Linked DNA regions of Homo sapiens: region 2 is linked to region 1. Evidence: promoter capture Hi-C in 16 types of primary human blood cells and fetal thymus (Javierre and others, 2016). All regions are on one chromosome and are shown on one strand. The core of a region is centred on a gene start or on the middle of the fragment in contact, and the rest is flanking DNA. Distances in the headings are between cores, read along the strand shown.

The links. The method cuts DNA at HindIII sites, captures the fragments that hold promoters and counts their contacts. A CHiCAGO score of 5 or more calls a contact.
Region 2: a fragment that was not itself captured here is called in contact with the fragment with the promoter of ID3 in region 1 in 1 of 17 cell types (neutrophils); the score reaches 5.1 in neutrophils.

What each region holds. Positions count from the first base shown.
Region 1 is chr1:23,558,251-23,563,078 of GRCh38, forward strand. ID3 (inhibitor of DNA binding 3) reads right to left here and starts at 1,251. Exons shown (of 3, transcript NM_002167.5): 1 at 877-1,251; 2 at 685-769; 3 at 1-165. The coding sequence starts at 1,176. The coding sequence ends at 710. The region is part of intron 2 of LOC124903876 (a long non-coding RNA gene); the gene reads left to right. RefSeq lists an enhancer at 121-250 and silencers at 1,191-1,450, 1,318-1,564. The HindIII fragment of the contact is 2,494 bases long and covers 1-1,920 here.
Region 2 is chr1:24,391,717-24,396,294 of GRCh38, forward strand. All of the region lies in intron 2 of STPG1 (sperm tail PG-rich repeat containing 1), which reads right to left. Among named protein-coding and RNA genes, the nearest start is that of STPG1, 20 kb to the right of the region's middle. RefSeq lists an enhancer at 342-591. The HindIII fragment of the contact is 2,681 bases long and covers 1-2,591 here.

The sequences.
Region 1 (4,828 bases), core at 1-2,500:
CCACAAGTTCACAGTCCTTCGCTCCTGAGCACCAGGTTTAGTCTCCAGGAAGGGATTTGGTGAAGTCAAGTGGGCAGGGCGAAGTTGGGGCCCATCCCTGCCGTCCGGCTTCCGGCAGGAGAGGTTCCCGGGGTCCCAGGCAGAACGGGCGCCAGCACCTGCGTTCTGGGCGGGGGAGGAAAGAAGACCAAGGAGCAGTCAGTTTCCGCCGAGCGTGCCGAGGCGGGGGCCGTCCGCAGACTGGCCGGCGCCAGGGAGGAAACTTGGTCTGTACCTCCAGCTGATAACTCCGCGCCCCACGCTGCCCCCACCCAGTTGGCGCCAAAGACCACAGGCGGAGCTTGCGCTACCCCTCCTACTTGGAATTGACACTAGCTGGGAGGGGGCTGCCGAAGACAGCTCCCTATACAACATGGAACAGAAAGACTTGTATTTAGTCGGACCCATGTCTACTTTGCCAGACCCTCGGCCACTGCGGGAGGGCAGGGCCCAGGCGCATTTAAGGCTTAAATGCACATCACATGGAAACTGACTCTGCCATTCATTTGATGCAACCATGGGCAAGTCACTTGTCCCTCTCTGGCCTCAGTTTCCCTAAACCGAGTGAGTGGCAATTTTTCAAAACGTCTGCCAACTCCAGGACTTGCCGTTTAAACCTCCCTCTCCAAGAGAGGAGATACTCACCTGGAGGTGTCAGGACACGGCCGAGTCAGTGGCAAAAGCTCCTTTTGTCGTTGGAGATGACAAGTTCCGGAGTGAGCTCGGCTGTCTGATTAGAGGAAAAGAGGGAAGAGTTACGCGAGGCAATCGGGAGCTCCGAGGGTCCCGCAGCATCCTTGCCTGGGTGTTCAGCCCTGTCCCGACTTCGAGGCTTACCTGGATGGGAAGGTGGGGGCCATCAGGGGGTCCAGGGGCTGGCTCGGCCAGGACTACCTGCAGGTCGAGAATGTAGTCGATGACGCGCTGTAGGATTTCCACCTGGCTAAGCTGAGTGCCTCTCGGGACTCCGGGTACCAGTTCCCGCAGGCGGGAGTAGCAGTGGTTCATGTCGTCCAGCAAGCTCAGCGGCTCCTCAGCTGCCGGGCCCTTCCCTCGGCCCCGGGCGATGGCCAGACTGCGTTCCGACAGGCAGCACACCGCCTCGTAGCAGCCGCGCACCGGGCTCAGCGCCTTCATGCTGGGGAGTGAGTCCAGAGGTGCCCCAAAGAGAAAGAAAACCAAAAGAAGTCCCGCTACAGTGACCTGCAACGCGCGCACGCTCGCCGCGGCGGTCACTTATAGAGCCTGCCTGGAAGGCACGCCTCTTTATTCAAAATGGCCCGCCTCGGCCCTGCCCCCGCCGGCCCTGGGCGTTCACAGCCCGCTTAAATTGCAAACAGGCTTCCTCCGGCTGGTCTGACGCCGAAGACCGCGGAGCCGCGGATTCAAAGAATGAGGAAGCGCTGATACCGGGGAGAGGCGGGCCTCTCCGCCAGCAAGGATTTAAAAATCACTCAAAACCATTAACTTCCAGAATTTGCTTTTTCCTGGCAGCACCCCAGATCTTTGAGCTTCCCTGCCCCCTGCCAGTCCGCCTTTAGCCCAACACTGGTTCGAGCCACAGCTCCTCCGAGGTCATAAATCCCTGAACAGCAAAGAAGCTCCCCCCACCCCCCGTTTTTTTTAAGCGAAAGATTTTTCAAGGGAAACTTGTAAGGAATTAGTGCCGCCTTGTTCCCCAATTTGCTGTTCGTCTGACCTCCAGACTCACTGGCGTCAGGAATTATCTTGTGACCAGAGGGAAAAAAAATTAATTGCGGTGAAGCTGAGGTTACAATGAAGAAAACAGATTTGCGCTAGGCGCTGAGATTGCAGAAGGAGGAGGGAAAGGGGGTTTGAGCAAAGAACACTATTTATTTGAGCAACAGGGGAAAAGAAGAAAGCTTGAGCCCATGCTTTTTGCATGGGGAAAAAAGGAGCCTGGACCCTCTGCCCCATAAACTCCATAACGAACTAAATATATGCACAGTTGTGCTTTGTGAGTTCAATTAGAATTTTGGACAAGGTTTTAAATATGGAGGCACAGATGGGACAATTTCTACATAAACCTTTTTAAGAGCCCCCCCCCACCCAATTGGGTCAGCAAATTTCTTAACTTCCCCTCTCTTCACTTTCCACACACCTCTGTGTAGAAAACAGTGGTAATTTCATTGCTCTATTGTCTGTCCCTTTCTGCTATGGAAGGGCAGGCCACCTGGACTTGATTATTCTTAGCCCTGCTGAAGTAGCTCCAGCTCCATCTGAAAGACCAGGAAAGGAACCAGAGGGCCGGCAAACTAAGTCCTGTATTGCAACAGGACACTGTGCTCAGTATTCTTTGATTCTTTGCTTGCCTTCTTGTCACCTCCCTAGACATTTGGGGACCTGCACTTCCAAGATGCTGCTTTCCATTTTGGAAATGACCAAGTGGGATTCCCCCAATAGTTGCTTTCCTAATGAATCATTGGTGAATATTTATGGAGTCCCTCCGCATAAAACAGTGGCTCCTGCTTTCAAGAATCTCACAATTTGGGGAGACAAGATTAACACAGGAAACAAGAGTTCGATAATGTGTGGCACTGATTAACAGGACAAGGGGGGCTCAGAGCCAAAGAGAGTCGCAAAACGGTTGAAAAGGACACTGACTGGGAATTGAGAGCCCTGGGTTCATCATGCTAGCCCTGACAATAATTTGTCATGTAATCTTGAACAAGCCCAGGTACTCTGGCTTTAATTGCCTTGTGAGTAAAATAGACGATGGTACTAAGTGATTATTTAAAATCCTTTCCAATTGTAGAAGTCCAAGGTTGTGTGAAATTTGGATATGTAGGTGAAAGATGCTGAGGGGCCCAAGGAAGGCATTTAAGACATGCCCAATGTCACACTACAAGTAATAGCAGAGCCAGTCTTGAAGCCTCGTTCTTTTCCATCAAACCACAGGGCTCTGTGGCCCAAGAAAGATTTCTTCCTGGAATGTTTTTTTCAAGGACAGGCTCTTCAGTAAGAAAAGAGGAAGAAAACCTGTGAGTGGGCAAGTCAGTCTTTACATGCTACAGCCGTCAAGTGCCAGCTATTTGGTCAGGAAAGGCAAAATAATGGCTGTAGGAACTCCTGAATAACCGAAGAGAAGATCCTTCTTTTCCTATCTTGCAGACTTCTGTGGCAAAACGGTCAAGTCCAGAGGGTTCTAGAAAAATCACGGGCCAGGCAGATTTCTGTGCAAATGCCCATTCTTCTTCTTCTTCTTCTTTTTTTGTTTAAACTAATTGTGTAGACTTTGGCTGAGTTATCCTGGGTGCTTCTATTTTCCCATCTATAAAATGGAACTAATTGGGTCTACTCATTCATTCATTCGATAATTATTGAATGCCTCTTCTCTGCAAAGCACTTGATGTGTTCACTCCATCTGATCTTAGTCTTCTTACTGCCTGGGGGACCCAGCATGGGCCAGTTGTGTGGAAGGTGCTCAGTCTACCCAGATTCTCCTCCCTTCTTTTCCTTCCTCTACTACTGCAGCTGATGCCTCAGGCTTGTATAGTGATTTAGGTTTGCAAAGCACCTTCGCATTTATTATTTCCCAGGATGCTTCCAGGCTGAAATGCCCATGGGCTGTGTGACATAAGGCAGAAGGATGCTGTGGAATTAGCAAGCAAAATTCTGTTCTGTGCATGCCAATAATTTGCAGTGTGCCCTTGGACGAATTTCCTCCCTTCCTGGGCTTCATTTTCTCTTTAAAAAAAAAAAAAAAAAAAAGATAGTGGGTAGGTTGGGAGGAAGCAAGTGCCCTTTAATGGTCCTCTCTAGCCTAAGATTCTAATTCTGAAAGAAGCAGGTTATGGTTAGGAACACTGAATAGTGTTTAAACCCAAGAGACTTCTTTTTCCCCACAGCAGACTGGACAGGCTAGCTCAGGCCTTCTGCAACTTGTTTAGCAGTGGTGGGGCCTCAGCCTCTTATTCCAAATGCCTCTGAACTTTCTGTTCCCAGTTCTGCTCCTTTTACCAGCTTTTTCCCCCCTCTTGCATTTTTTATTTTTATGAAAGGATGTCATTAAGGCTTTTGTCTGCGCTGTTTTTGTTTCAGAACTTTTCTCACAATCCTATTTTTTGTTGAGGAATCCGCTCCTTTGCCCAGCTGTGGGTCCCGGTCCCACAGCTGTGTTGATCTAAGACTCAGCCCCAGACAGCCTGGCGCCAGGGTGGGACGTCATGCGTTCACACAGGGATGCGTGTCCCAGGCAACCTTTCCTCGGGCAGTCACCGGCCGGCGACTGCCTCCCCCACCAATGAGCGCCGGACACCCGAGAAAGGGGCGGGGTCTGCATCGCCCCAACCGCGAGCGGCTTGTGAATTGCAGATGCTGAGAACTTGATAATGTTGCTTCAATTGGGGCCCTTTAAAGTCTTTTTTTTTCTTTCTCTTTTAGTTCTTTATTTTCTTTTGTCTATTCCCTTTCTTTCCACCTTCTTCCTTTATCTATATATGTGTATAATTTTTCTTCTTCTTTTTTCTAACTATCTCCTCCCAGTGTCAGGAATCATTTTGTAAGCATTTCCAGGAACTCAATCTTCCTCTGCCAAAATAAAAAAAAGAAAAAAAAATTCAATGTTGTGCTCTCTGATTTTTTTTTTTTTGAGAAGTTGGCAGAACTCTTTAAGTTATACTGTTTTGTTTTTTAAAAAATTTTAGAATTTTTTAATTTCGTGGTAGTGGGCTCTCTAAATTGTTGATTTCAAAGTCAAAGTAATGATGACAAGGATTGCAGATGCCTTTTTGTCTAAGCTGAGCCTCTATTTATTATCTATCTATCA
Region 2 (4,578 bases), core at 1-2,500, 830 kb after region 1:
AAAACAATGATTGACAAATGTGGAAAACACAAAGGTGTATATTAAAGTTTTATTTTAAATGGTAGAGAAGAGAAACTTGCCTTTTGACAGGAAACAGACACGAAACCGGATTAAAAAAAAAATTCCCCACTTTCTTTCCCTCTCGGCAATTTATCGGACTTCCCCCCTCCAGCTCTTAAATTAGTGAGATGTGGTCACATAAAGTACCTTAAACAGGCTGTCCCGGAGAAAAGGAAGGAGATGATAGTAAAGACATTCTTGCCAGGCAGGAAGGAGACAGCAAAACTATTCTGGGAGCAGCCTGGACGAGGCGCGGTCAGGACAGAGGAAGCGTCCTCACTGCTCCTTGGCCTAGATTCAGACACCAGCATTAGGCCGTTAAAATCCAAAGAGGTTAGGGAAATCCCAGCCTGGGGCTGGCTCTCACTTTTCAGGGCACTGTGCAAGACAGGTGTAAGTTTTCGTTTCTGTTTTGAGCAGACATGGGGTTAAAAAGCAGAAAGGGATCATCTATAGAAACTGAAGTTAAAAGTTCCTTTGTCTAGGCTGCGATGTATACATGCATGTCTGATGTATAAACTCCCCTCCTGCTGAGACTTCCACAACTGCTAGAACTTGGCAGCATCTGTCTGCATAGCAGGTTGATTATAGACTCTAACCTGTAAGTGTAATGGACTCTGACTCCAGTTTTTTGATGTTTGATGGCTGATAGCTCTTCAGCTTCACCACTCCCTCATTCCCTTCTGCCCTACCACTGGGCAAGCGGATGAGAAAGCCCAGAGCTCCCTCCTGTGGCACCAGCTGGAAGTTCAAACCACGCAGACCCCTGCCCTCAGTCCAGCCTCGCTTTCCAACCATAAGAAAACCCCCAAGCCAGGCTCCTTTCCCTGCTCTCTCAAGCCATTATTGGATCAGGTTAGGAAGGCTGTGCTGCTGTCCTCAGAAGGCCTCACTATGTGGGTGATAAGCCTTTTCCTACACTCTTCATGAGCGTGTGTGTGGCACCGTAAGTCTTGACATCCAAACCAAATTTTGGGTGGGGGGGTGCATCCTGACTCTGTAGGCTGTTCACAACAGTAAGCCAAATTATTTTAACATCAGAATCCTAACCTTCAGAGAGGAAATACGCGCAGAAATGGGGGAAAAAAAACAGTCAAGAGAAGGAAAGAAGAAAGTATGTGTTAGCCATGACAGAGGGTGGTTTGTATGGAAACTATCAGTAAGGCTCATTTCTTCATCTCTGAATTTTTTTAAAAAACAATACTCCTTTTCAGAGCAGGAAGCCTGAAGACAACAGGGACCCCTCAAGGGGTACAATCATGAACCAGCTTCACAGTTGAGGAAACTGAGGCTTAGAGGGATTAAGTTACTCATCCGAATCACCCAGCACTTAAGCGGAACAGGTAGGGTGTGAACATGATTTGCCTAATGAGTCCAGGCTCTTGAGCTCTGAGCTGTGCTTCCTCTTCCTGAGCTGGCCTCTAGTAAGTGCTCAATAAACACGATGGGGAGAGGGACACTGAAGCCTAATCTGCCTGGGTGGAGGATGAAGCAAGTAAAAGGAGCTGAATACGTGTTTAAGTAGAAAATATTTGGGGATACCAATATACAGTAAATGTATTCTTCTCCTCCCCTCCCCATTTAAGTAGATGAATGGCTATGTTTTTGGTTTGTTTGCTTTAAGAGAGCTATACAGCAAATCAAAAGGCAGAAGCAGCTGCAAGACTTCCTGGCTTTTGTTTCTAAAAGCCTAAGCCTATAGAACAGCTAAGAGAGTGTGCAGAGGAGGCAGTAAAAAGAGAGTTATTTAAAAAAGGTTAAAGGAAGGACATTCTCCTGGGGAAAGGAGAGGTTTCTGCCTGACTGGAAAGGAGATCCAAGGCTTCTGGCTATAACAGAAATGCATGTGTCAGAGCAGCCCTCTTGATGAAACAATTTAAAAAGTAGAATTTTTGAAAAACACTCTGGATGACTGAACTCCTATTTCTTACCAAAACAGGACTAGATTTGCCCTCCCAGCTGGAAAAAAAAAGTTAAAAATGGGCAAGATATATAAAGCAATCAAGATACTGGACATCAGGCAACAAAGGACAGGGATCCCTGAGAGAAGCAAAGTAAATGAGGTTGGCAATAAGATGGTCCCCAGCTTTCTGCCAGGAGAAAATCTCAAGACCACAGCACAGGAAGAAGGGATCCAGATGGAGCCCCGTGGTCTTCCTGAGTTGAGGAAATAGATCTGGGAGTCCAGAAAGACCAAGACAGCTAAGTTCACAGAGCAGAGTACCAGAGAAGAGAGAGCTACCCAGATGGAGAGCTATGGAGCTCTGCAACGGGGTCCCCTGAGTAAGTTCCTGGGTATTGACCAACACATGGCATGAGAAAACTACCCAGGGCTGGAGAAGGAACCGCCTGGCAGAATTCAAGTGAGCAATCCCTGAGGCTTCCACAGGGCCGGGAATAGCTCCTGTTTTCATGAGTCACAGCGGGAAAACCTCATAATTCATGGAACATAGAGTATGCAGGAGGGTTTCGCCTCAGAAATGGGGCAAAATTACCCCTAGACTAAATACTGCTCTGGTTCCAGCTAACAAAGCTTTAAAGCAGGACCTGAAAAGATCAAACTGTCTCCAAATAATTTAACTGCATCTCAGAACAAAGCACAAGAATATTTATGGGACTACAAAAATAGCACCTAAGAGGTAAAATTCAAAATACCTGGCATTGATAAAAAATTAATAGGAGGAAGAAGGAAAAATATACTTCAAAGTGGGGAGAAAATAAATGATCAAAACCAACTCAGAAATGATACAGATGATAGAATTAGTGGAGAAGAACATTATAACTGCTGCACTAACTGTATTTCATATGTTCAAGAAGCCAGAGAAAAGACTGAACATATTAAGTAGATATGGAAGATATAATGACAAGATCCAAATCGAACTACCAGATGTGAAAACTAAATGTCTGAGATTAAAAATACACTAGATGAGATGAATAGCAAATTAGACATTAGAGGAAAAAAAGATTAGTAAACTTGAAGACCTAGAAATAAAACTATACAAAATAAAACAGAAAAAGGACAAGAAAAAGGATTAGTGAGCTGTGTGGAAACTTTGAGGAGCCTAATATATATGTAATCAGGCTCTCAAAAAAAGAAATATGAGGAGAGAAGAAATAGAAAAAAATAGTTCAAGAAAAAATGGTTGAAATTTTTCCAAATTTGATTAAAAAAACTATTGACTCACAGATTCAAGAAAGTCACTTAACATCAAATACAAGAAACATGAAGAAAATGACACCGTAGGCCAACCATAATCAAATTGCTTAAAAAGTGATAAGAAGAAAATGTTAAAATTGGGCAGAGAAAAAAGACATGTCACATATGAAGAAACAAATACGAGAATGACAGCAGATTGATACTGAAAACAACACCTTTAAGGCAATAAAAGGAAAAAAAAAACCTGTCACCCTAGAATCCTGTACTCAGTAAAAATATCTTCAAAAGCAAAAGCAGAATAAAAACTTTTAAAACTATATAAATATTGAAAGAATCATCAGCAAATGGGAGCTACAAGAAATGTTAAGGGAAGCCCTTCAGGCCAAAGAAAATGATACCAGTAGGAAATCTGAATCACATAAAGGAATGAAGCTCTGGAAATAGTAAATATGTGGGTAAATAGAAAATATAAAATTATGAGTATAAATTGAACAATTTTTTTTTTTTTTTTTTTTTTTAGACGGAGTCTCGTTCTTGCGCCCAGGCTGGAGTGCAATGGCGCTATCTCGGCTCACTGCAAGCTCTGCCTCCCGGGTTCACGCCATTCTCCTGCCTCAGCCTCCCGAGTAGCTGGGACTACAGGCGCCCGCCACCGCGCCCGGCTAATTTTTTGTATTTTTAGTAGAGACGGGGTTTCACCGTGTTAGCCAGGATGGTCTCGATCTCCTGACCTCATGATCTGCCCGCCCCGGCTTCTCAAAGTGCTGGGATTACAGGCATGAGCCACCAAACCCAGCCTTGAATAATTTAAATATAACATTTTAAACATTTAAAAAGTAATGATTACTGGCCGGGTGTGGTAGCCTGTAATCCAGCACTTTGGGAGGCCTCCTCACCAAATTAGCCAGGCATGGTGGCAGGTGCCTGTAATCCCAGCTATTCAGGAGGCTGAATCAGGAGAATTGCTTGAACCCAGGAGGTGTAGGTTACAGTGAGCCAAGACTGCGCCACTGCACCCCAGCCTGAGCGACACAGCAAGGCTCCATCTCAAAAAAAAAAAAATTTATGTAAAGCAAAAATAACAACTGTTTTGTAGGGTTTATACCATATGTACAAGTAAAATGTTTAACAACAATAACATAAAGGCCAGGAAGGGAAAAATAAAAATATACTGTTTTAAGGTTCTTCTACTATATGTGAAGTGTTATAATATCACTTGATGGTAGACCATGATAAGTTAAAGATATATACTATAAACTCTAAAGTATGTAGGGATCAACGAACTTTTTCTAAGGGCCAGATAGTACATATCTGTCTATCTATCTATCCATCTATAGCTATCTATCTATCTATCTATCTAT